Linked DNA regions of Homo sapiens: all the other regions are linked to region 3. Evidence: promoter capture Hi-C in 16 types of primary human blood cells and fetal thymus (Javierre and others, 2016). All regions are on one chromosome and are shown on one strand. The core of a region is centred on a gene start or on the middle of the fragment in contact, and the rest is flanking DNA. Distances in the headings are between cores, read along the strand shown.

Region 1 (2,872 bases), core at 288-2,787, 290 kb before region 3:
CTGTAGGTAAATGTCATCCCTTATCCTGGGACTTTCCTTTTCACTCTCTTAACAATGTGCTAAGACACAGAAACTCTTGATTTTAATATAGCCCAATTTATCAGTCTCTTTATGTTTAGTGTACATGTCTATTTTATTAATACTTAAGAAATCTTTGCCCATCCCAAGATAGTTTCTTCTAGAAACTCTATTATTTTACCTTTTACATCTAGATCTACAATTCACTTGAAATTGTTTTTGATTGAGGAAGATGCCCGAGTCTGTTGTTTTCCATGTTGACCCAGCACCATTTATTGAAAGGCTGCTCATTCTCTACTACTCTGTATTGCTGTTGCTACCTTTGTCATAAATCAAGTGTCCAGGCATATGCAGCTCTGCTTCTTGATTATTTATTCTGTTCAAATATCATACTGTCCTAATTACTGTAACTTTATAATAACTCTTTAGTAGCATAAGCCCTTCAACTTTGTACTTCTTTGTTTATGCTGGCTATTCTTGACCCCAGTGCATTTCCATATAAATTTATTTTACTTTTTTATTTTTAATTTTTATGGATACATAATAGTTGTACATATTTATGGTGCACACATGATATTTTGATACAAGAATATAATGTGCGATGATCAAATCTGGGTAGCTATACAAATTTTACAATCAGCTTATTAATGTCTTAAAAAAACTCTACTCTCATTTTAATTTGGATTGCATTGATTCTAGAAATCAATTTAAGGATAATTTACATCTTTACAATAAATATTAACTTCTCTAATCCATGTATAGATCCTTTTATTTAAGTTACCTTAAATTGTTCTCAATGTTTTGGAGTTTTCTATGTAGAAGTCTTGCATATCTTCATTATATCTATTGTAGGCATTTGATTTTTATGCTGTTATAAATGGTAATTTTAAATTTTATTTTAAATTGTTTGTTGCTGCTGTACAAAAAAATTAATTGATTTTTGTATATTGACCTTGATTCTGGTGACCTCACTAAATCCAACTATTACCTCTTATAGGGTGTCCACAGATTATTTTGCAATTTCCCCATACACAATCTTGTAATCTGTGAAAATGACAACTTTATTTCTTCCTTTCTCATCCATATATTTTATGTATTTTTAATATATTTTATGTAGGCGTTTGTATTGGCTAGAGACCTTCAGTACAACGTTGAATAGAAGGATAATAGCAGTTGTACTAGTTTCACTCCCTGTCTCAAGGGAAAGCCTTTAATATTTCACAATTTGGTATCCTGTTTGCTATAGGCTTTTGTTATAGACACCTTTTATCAGATTAACAAAGTTTGCTCCTATTCCTAGTTTGCTAGAGTTTTTCTTTTAATCATCAAAGGATATTAGATCTTATGAAAAGCTTTTTCTGTATCTACTAAACAGTTACTTCACCAAAAAAAAGATATACAGAGGGAAAATAGCATATGAAGGACTGCTTAGCATCATTAGTCATTAGGGAAATGCAAATTAAAACCATAATGAGATACCATTACATACCTAATGGGATGCCTGAGATTAAAAAGACTTCCCATTGCTGATAAGAATGTGAAGTCATAGAAATTTTCATACGCTAATAGTGGGGATGTGCAAAAGTACAACGACTATGAAAAATAGTTTGACAGTTTTTTAAAAAGTTAAACATATGATCTAGTCATTCCACTCCTAGGCATTTACCCCGCAAAATGAAAGCTTATGTCCATTTAAAGACTTGTAGATAAAATGCTCATAGCAGTTTTATTTGTAATGCCCCCAAACTGGCGACAACTCAAATTTACATCACCAGTGAATAAACATCATGTTTTTATACAATGGAATATTACTCAACAATAAAAAGCAATGGAGTATTGATATATCAGCAACAGAGATGAATCTCATAGTAATTATGCTGAGTGAAAGAAGCCAGACAAAAAGAGTACATGTTACAGGTATATGATTTTTTTAATCTGTTGAGATACTCGTATGGTTTTTCTTTTTTAGTCCGTTAATATGATGAATTATATTGATTTTTAAATATTAAACTATTTTTGCATTACTGGGGTTGGTCACGATGTATTATCTTTTTATATATTGTCTGGTTTGATTCGCTAAAATTTTTCTAAGGATTTATGTATTTATGTTTATGAGGGCTGCTGACCTCTAGTGATCTTTTTCCCTCTTGTAATGATGCCATATAGTTTTGGTATCAGGTAGTGGTTGCCTCATTGAATGAGTTTGGAAATGTCTTTTCCTCTTCAGTTTTCTGGGACAGCTTGTATGGAATTGATAGGTGGAGTGTTCTATAAATGCCAATTAGGTCAGGTTAGGTAATAGTTTTGTTCAGGTTTCATATATCTTTACTGATCTATCTACTTGTTTAAATTATCGAGGGAGATGTTTTGAGATCTCTGACTATAATTGTGAAATTTTCTATTTTTTCTCGCAGTTTTATCAGTTTCTGCTTCTTATATTTTCAATCTCTTTTTATTGGGTACATCAGCATTTAGGACTGTTATGTTCTCTTGAGGAGCTGACTGCTCATAATGACCCCATTATGAAATGACCCTCTTTATTGCAGGTAATATTTTTTGCTCTGAAATCTACTTTATCTGATAATATCTAACTATCTTTTGATTAGTGTTAGCATAGTAAATCTTTTTCCATTATTTTACTTTTAACTTATTTCTGAGTTTATATTTCAAGTATGTTTCTCCAAGGTAACATATAGTTGGGTCTTTCTTTCTTATCCAATCTGAGAATCTCTGTTTTTTAATTGGGATATTTAGATTATTTACATTTAATGTGATTATTGGTGTATAAGTTTAAGTCTATCATCTTGTGACTTGCTTTCTATTCGTCCCATCTGTTCTTTATTTACCTTTTCTC
Region 2 (3,076 bases), core at 543-3,042, 270 kb before region 3:
TTCAAAGCTGGGGTGACCTTACTTCTAGGAGCATCAGCAAATCCTTACACACTGCATGTAGCCACTTCTTATTAGAATTCGAGTTTGGCAGAGTTGGATACTCAAGGAACAGATCAGCGTTGGAGTTAACTTCCCATTACTGAAGAGGCTGGGGTTGAGCTGGGGCTTGAACCCAGGTTAGGCTCTGAACAACTTAGGCTCTGGACAAGAACACTCCCGCTTCTGGTGCTACACCCCCCCAAATGCTAGTGGGGGTCCATAAACCAGACGCTGAGGACCGTCACCACCAAGCACAGAGTGAAGTAGGGGGGCCCTAATGCCTTCCTTTTGGCTCACCCACTTTCTGTGTTTGTGTAGTTATTGATTCCTATCAAGTGAGAAAATCCAGGGCAATGTTCTCAAGCTTTTGACCATTAAATAGTGGGAAATTTTTTGTTTTATCAGACTCCAATACTTGCCATGCTATCTTAGGGGAAAGTGATGTTATCACTGAGTTTCTGTGACTTTTGTCCCTGTTCTTTTGACAAACATTGATTCTGTTTGTTTTTTAACTGAAGATAATTTATCGTGGCTTCCTGAAAGGGTGGGATTGGTTCTGTTAAACCGTGAAAATACTGTAGGATTTGATGAAAACAGTAATTTGGTGGAGGGTAGGAGGCACAGATGGACAACAAGCCCCCTGGAGCTTTGTTTGAAGCAAACTCGTTGCTTAGGCAGTTCAGATCATTTAACCTTAGAAACAAGATGTGAGATTTTACTCAGAAGAAAAGCCTAGGCTGAGAAGAGCATCTAAAGCTTCCTATCACATAAATTACCCAACAGCTGATGAGTCAAGGGTAAGTGGCCTGGAACAGGATTGGGTGGAAATGCATTTATGGCAAAATCATTTTTGCCAAGTCCCAAACAGAAGATGAATAATTTGAGTTAGTTTACAGAAGCGAGTACAGGTCTGAACTTGCGTTTTCCAAGGGAAGATCCTCAAAGCCTGAGGTCAGTTTATCATTGTTACTGCCAGAGTTTCGCCTTTTATAAAATGCATTTAGACCTTGTGCTGGTCACCATCTTTTTGACATCTGTCCTTCAGATCCACAATATTATGTGACAATGCTGATTCCTTTGGTTGTCTCCTTACAGTGCGCCCGATTGGACACCATCATTTCTAAATACCCTGCAGCGAATGCATACACTATCCCATCGGATTTTATTTCCAAGAGAGACTTTAGTAATTCGTGTTCCAGCATGTTCCAGTTGCCAAGCTTTATGAAAGCTCTCAAGTTTGAAACTCCTGCACCAAACTATTACAATGTAAGAACTCTGCCTATGCTTGCTAAATACAGATCGAATTAATGGTTTACTAAAATAAAAGGAAGAGGGGATCTTGGGGACATCGTATTTTAATGCAGTTGTCAAGCCAGTTAGCATTTGTTGACTACCCAATGGGTGCCTAAGGCTGTACAAGACTCTTACAGGGAATTTGCAGACCCCAGAGATCAGGATGGGCAACATGGAGGCCAGTATCAAGCTGTGGGGAGGCCACTGCCCTGAGAAACACATATTCTAATTACTCTTGTCCTGTAACCTTTCTGGGACGTAGTTTTCTCATCTGTAACAATGGGTGTATTATTTACCACTTTGTCTGCAGCCACTAATGATTTACTTTTTAGGTTCTTCTAGGGAAAATAAACTTTCATATCAGAAAATAGGTGTTTTAACAGTCGTGCCCTGCTGTGCCAATTATGATCGCTTTGTATTCACTGACGCAGAATGGCATGGATGGTTAAGAGATGGACTCAGGAAGGTTTGGTTTAGCTCTCATCTGTTGCCACTTTCTAACTGTGCGGCCTTCGGCAAGTCCCTTAACCTTTCCAGGGCTTAGTTTACTGATCTGTAAAATGGTGATGTATGTTCACCTCATCGTGTTAATGCAAATATTAAATGAGATAATGTATGCTTCATGCCCAGGACAGCACCAGTCACACAAGGACCACACAATACATGGAGATTGGTAGGGCTGTCTTTGTTAGTACATGAAGGGTATTTACTTACCCTTAAATACAAGCAAGTAAGTAAGTCACAGCCCCCACTGTACAATGGAATCAATTCTACTTGCCCTACAGGGTTACCATAAGGCAACGAACGTGAAAGCACTCTGAAGTGCGCAAGATATGAATTGTACTTAAGACATTAATGTTATGCCATTTTCCAAACTATTTTGGTTTTATACATTTATTATACCATTTCCTTTTTTCCTTCATAATATTGATAATTAATAATTATTTTTCTGACTACAAAAATCCTGCCCACCTTCTATGATGGATTCAAGCTTTTTTTTGAGACGGAGTCTTGCTCTGTTGCCCAGGCTGGAGAGCAGTGGTGCAATCTGCAGGCTCCACCTCCTGGGTTCACACCATTCTCCTGCCTCAGCCTCCCAAGTTGCTGGGACTACAGGCACCCGCCACCACACCCGGCTAATTTTTTGTATTTTTAGTAGAGATGGGGTTTCACTGGGTTAGCCAGGATGGTCTCAATCTCCTGATCTCGTGATCCACCTGCCTCGGCCTCCCAAAGTGCTGGGATTACAGGCGGGAGCCACCGTGCCCGGCCTCATTTAAGATTTTCTAGTAGCCACATCTAAAAAGAAAAAGGGACAGATGAAGTTAATTTGAGTAATATAGTTTACCCAACAGATCCAAAATATTATCATTTCAACACTAATCAATATAAAAGTTATGAATTTTATATTTGAGGAAGACTATTTTCCTTGTAGTGAGTCTTTAAAATCCAGTATGTGTTTTATTCTTCCAGCACATTTTAATTTGGGCCAGCCACGTTTCCAGGGCCAATAGCCACATGCAACCTGTGGCTACTATACTGGGCAGTCCAACTCCAGGCAGTCTTCCCTCGGCATAATCAGAGCCTGAAAATGATGAGGAGGAGGAGGAGGAGGATGAAGCACTTCTCATGTACTAAGTGCTGGTCTAAGAGTTATGTATTAATCATATTTAATACTCACAAGTGAATCCATAAAGTGGATTATCTTGTTCCCAGTATAAAGAAGAGAAAGCTAAGGCTCAGA
Region 3 (3,056 bases), core at 26-2,525:
GAAGGAAGGAAGGAAGGAAGGAGGGGGGGAGGGAAAGAAGGAAAGAAGGAAGGAAGGAAGGAAAGAGAAAGAAGAAAGAAAGAAAGAAAGAAAGAAAGAAAGAAAGAAAGAAAGAAAGAAAGAAAGAAAGAAAGAAAGAAAGAAAGAAAAAGAAAGGGAGAGAAGGAAGGGAAGGAAGGAAAGGAAGGAACGTGGGGGTTTGTTAGGGGCTTGCCTACAGGAGAGAGAGTCCACTGGTGATGAACTGGACAGGAGAACCGCCTTACATACAGAAATGGTCCAGGGGCGGCGGGCTGGACAACATACCAGTGGCGGCCGACTGGGCAGGAAAACCTCAGCCCCTTGCAAACAGCATGCAGTTTATAGAGCATTTTCACTTTACACCATCCCCTAATGACCTCCACCTGGCAATCTTCATTTAACCCAAAACTCAGGGCCTCAATCCCCTGTATGGCCAGCGTTCCACCAGAAGGGACGGGACGGGGGCTCAGATATTCATCGTAGGTAAGAAACGGGTTGGCTACTCCCCAGATTCCTTAGCTCGGAACACATATTCAGGTCTTCCACACAGGGTCATTCTTGGAGCGTGCTTCAGTTATCCCTGTCAGGTGCGTTTACCCTATAAGAAGGCCCTTCAGGGGACACTCTGGCAGCCTGAGCAGTTTGCACAGTGAAGCAGTAGGTGGCTCCCCAGCTCCTCCTGCCTGCACCACACCACACACACATGACTGTGGTCAGGGCGGGGGCCGTGTAGTAACTACCGGAGTGGTGGAGGGACCAGGAGCCACACATTGCTGTTTTAGCCAGTGACAACTTCTGAGCACGAAACACTCACTTTTAGGTCATATTCCTTCCACCGTCTTCATGAAGTCCAGGTGCCCAGTCTCACTGTCTCCGTTTTTCAGAAGGCAGTCAGTTCAGGGAAGCTGAGCGCCTTCCCCAGGGCACCCAGTCAGCCGGGGCAGAATTCAGATCAGAACTCCCGACAGCTGAGAACGCCGCACGGGATCTGCCCTCCATACGACCATGCCTGAGCCGTTCCCTCCTTTCCATTTTAACAGGGGCTTGGGTTGGGCAGAAAGGACCCAGCTGAGAGGAGGAGCAGTGTGGGGGGACGCGGCGGACAGCTCCACCTGTCGCTGCTGCCCAGCAGGCTGGAGACACGGAATGGCCCCTCCCCTTGGCCCCCTGTCCCCGATGCCATAGTTCTCATCCATTGTCATTGTACTGTCTCAGTGCTGCTATATTTAAGACGGTGCAGTCTCCGGGATCGCATTCTTCTCCCGGTGCCCGCTGAGCCGAGGGCAAGAAGAGAACAAGGACCCTCTCGGCCTCAGGAATCTTCTCCCCAGAGACTCCTAAGTGGGCACACTGCTTCTGTGAGTCACCCCCAGAAATCAGGGTGGGGGAGGGATGCCTCCTAAGAGTCAGCCACTGGGGAGTGATATCTGTGGGTGCATGTGTGTGTGTGTGTGCACGTGTGTGTGTTTGTGTGTATGTGTGTTGTGTGTTGTGAAAGGAGCCTGGGAAATTTGTGCTGAGGCAGCACCCAAGTGAAAATGGGAGGGGATTCCAGAAACCCCTGCCCCATCCCACTGTTCTGTGTGGCCCTGGGTCTTCTGAGAGCTGAGCTGTCTGTGATGTGAAAGTTGCAAAAAAAAAAAAAAGAGTGGGGGCTGCCCTGGGAACTGGAGTCTTTCCTGTGATGGAGCAGCGATAAGCGGGAGCCAGGCTAAGCTGGCAAGTTCCACGAACTTAGAGCGGAGCTGGCTGAGCCCGGCTTGGCCAACCCCACAGGCAGGGAAAGAGAGCGAGCCCTCGGATCCCAAATCTTAGAGCTGGAAGGGATTTCATCCAGTGCCTGACAGGAAACCGAGGCCCAGACGGGAAAGGAGTTGCCTCAGCTCATGACTGGCAAGGGCAGGATTCGGCCTCGCGGAAGCTGGTGGAGCCACTGGCTAAGAACACGTCCCAGCCTGTGCCACCCGCCGCCCGCAGGATGTGTCTCTGCTCCCAGCCACCATCCGCCCCCATCGCAGCTCCTGGAGGGGTCTTGGCTCAACTGCTGTGCATTCCTCTTTCCCTCCTGAAGAAGGGGAGAGGCCTCCTCGGCAGATGGAGGCTTGGGAGGAAAGCAGAGGGGAATAGGGAAGGCCACGCAGTGGGACCTCTGGCCCAGATTTTTGCACCCCAAGAGAGGGAAGCGGGGGCAGTTTCCCCTCCACGCAGGCACACACAGTGTTCCGGGAAGAGGCACCCTGGTCCTTTGGGAAAGGGCAGTGAGGCCGCAAACTTGTCCCTGCTTAATACCACGCATCAGTCAGTGCTTTAAAAAGAATTGGTAGCTCATCCGCTAAAGCCAGGGGTCTGGTTGCTGGAGGCCCCGAGGTCAGGGACGAGCGCCAGGCCCCTGCCTGCTGTGCTAATCGGGAACAGAGCATCCAGGGGAAGGGAGCCAGTGGCTGGTGCCAGGGAATGTTAACTCTCAGCCACTGGAGCCAGGGCCATCGTGTCCCAGGAAAGCTGGGGCAGAGTGGGGGGTCCTTGCTCCACCTAGGGTGGTACCCAGCAGCTCTCCTCCTGGGCCATGAGGAAGAAAGAGCAGAATGAGCAGGGCTAGCCACTTCTTTGGGTGCAAAGAGAACTTCTTCCATCGGGAGGGAGTGATACGAAGCCAAAGAGGGTGACTGTCCCATTATGTCATTTGAGATGATTAGCAGGAGCCCAGGGAGCTTTAGGGGGCAGCCCTTGGTCCCAGCTAACCCTGCAGCCATCCATTCTCTTTTTCCTGATGCCCACAACTGCAGACACCCAAAAGGAGCAAACTTCTAGGAAGTAGAAGGGGTAAAAGCCCACTAAGACTGACCCTCCACAGCCCGAGCCCCAGACACCTCCACCACATGCCCCTTCCAGGCCAACGGCTCTCCAATAAAGCCAGTGGGCTCACCTTCCATGCCATGGACTTAGAGAAATGGTCACCTAGGTGCTGTGTTCACATCCAGGCAGAAGACAGCCTACACATGCACGCACACACACACATACACACACATGCACGC

Evidence for each region. The method cuts DNA at HindIII sites, captures the fragments that hold promoters and counts their contacts. A CHiCAGO score of 5 or more calls a contact.
Region 1: a fragment that was not itself captured here is called in contact with the fragment with the promoter of MYOM3 in region 3 in 1 of 17 cell types (M0 macrophages); the score reaches 6.0 in M0 macrophages.
Region 2: a contact is called between a fragment that was not itself captured here and the fragment with the promoter of MYOM3 in region 3, in 1 of 17 cell types (M0 macrophages). The highest score is 5.6, in M0 macrophages.

What each region holds. Positions count from the first base shown.
Region 1 is chr1:24,396,763-24,399,634 of GRCh38, reverse strand. The region is part of intron 2 of STPG1 (sperm tail PG-rich repeat containing 1); the gene reads left to right. Among named protein-coding and RNA genes, the nearest start is that of STPG1, 16 kb to the left of the region's middle. The HindIII fragment of the contact is 329 bases long and covers 1,373-1,701 here.
Region 2 is chr1:24,377,882-24,380,957 of GRCh38, reverse strand. STPG1 (sperm tail PG-rich repeat containing 1) reads left to right here. Exons shown (of 9, transcript NM_001199013.2): 5 at 1,135-1,305. Among named protein-coding and RNA genes, the nearest start is that of STPG1, 34 kb to the left of the region's middle. The HindIII fragment of the contact is 1,067 bases long and covers 1,259-2,325 here.
Region 3 is chr1:24,110,354-24,113,409 of GRCh38, reverse strand. MYOM3 (myomesin 3) reads left to right here and starts at 1,275. Exons shown (of 37, transcript NM_152372.4): 1 at 1,275-1,379. RefSeq lists an enhancer at 565-1,073. The HindIII fragment of the contact is 9,473 bases long and covers 1-3,056 here.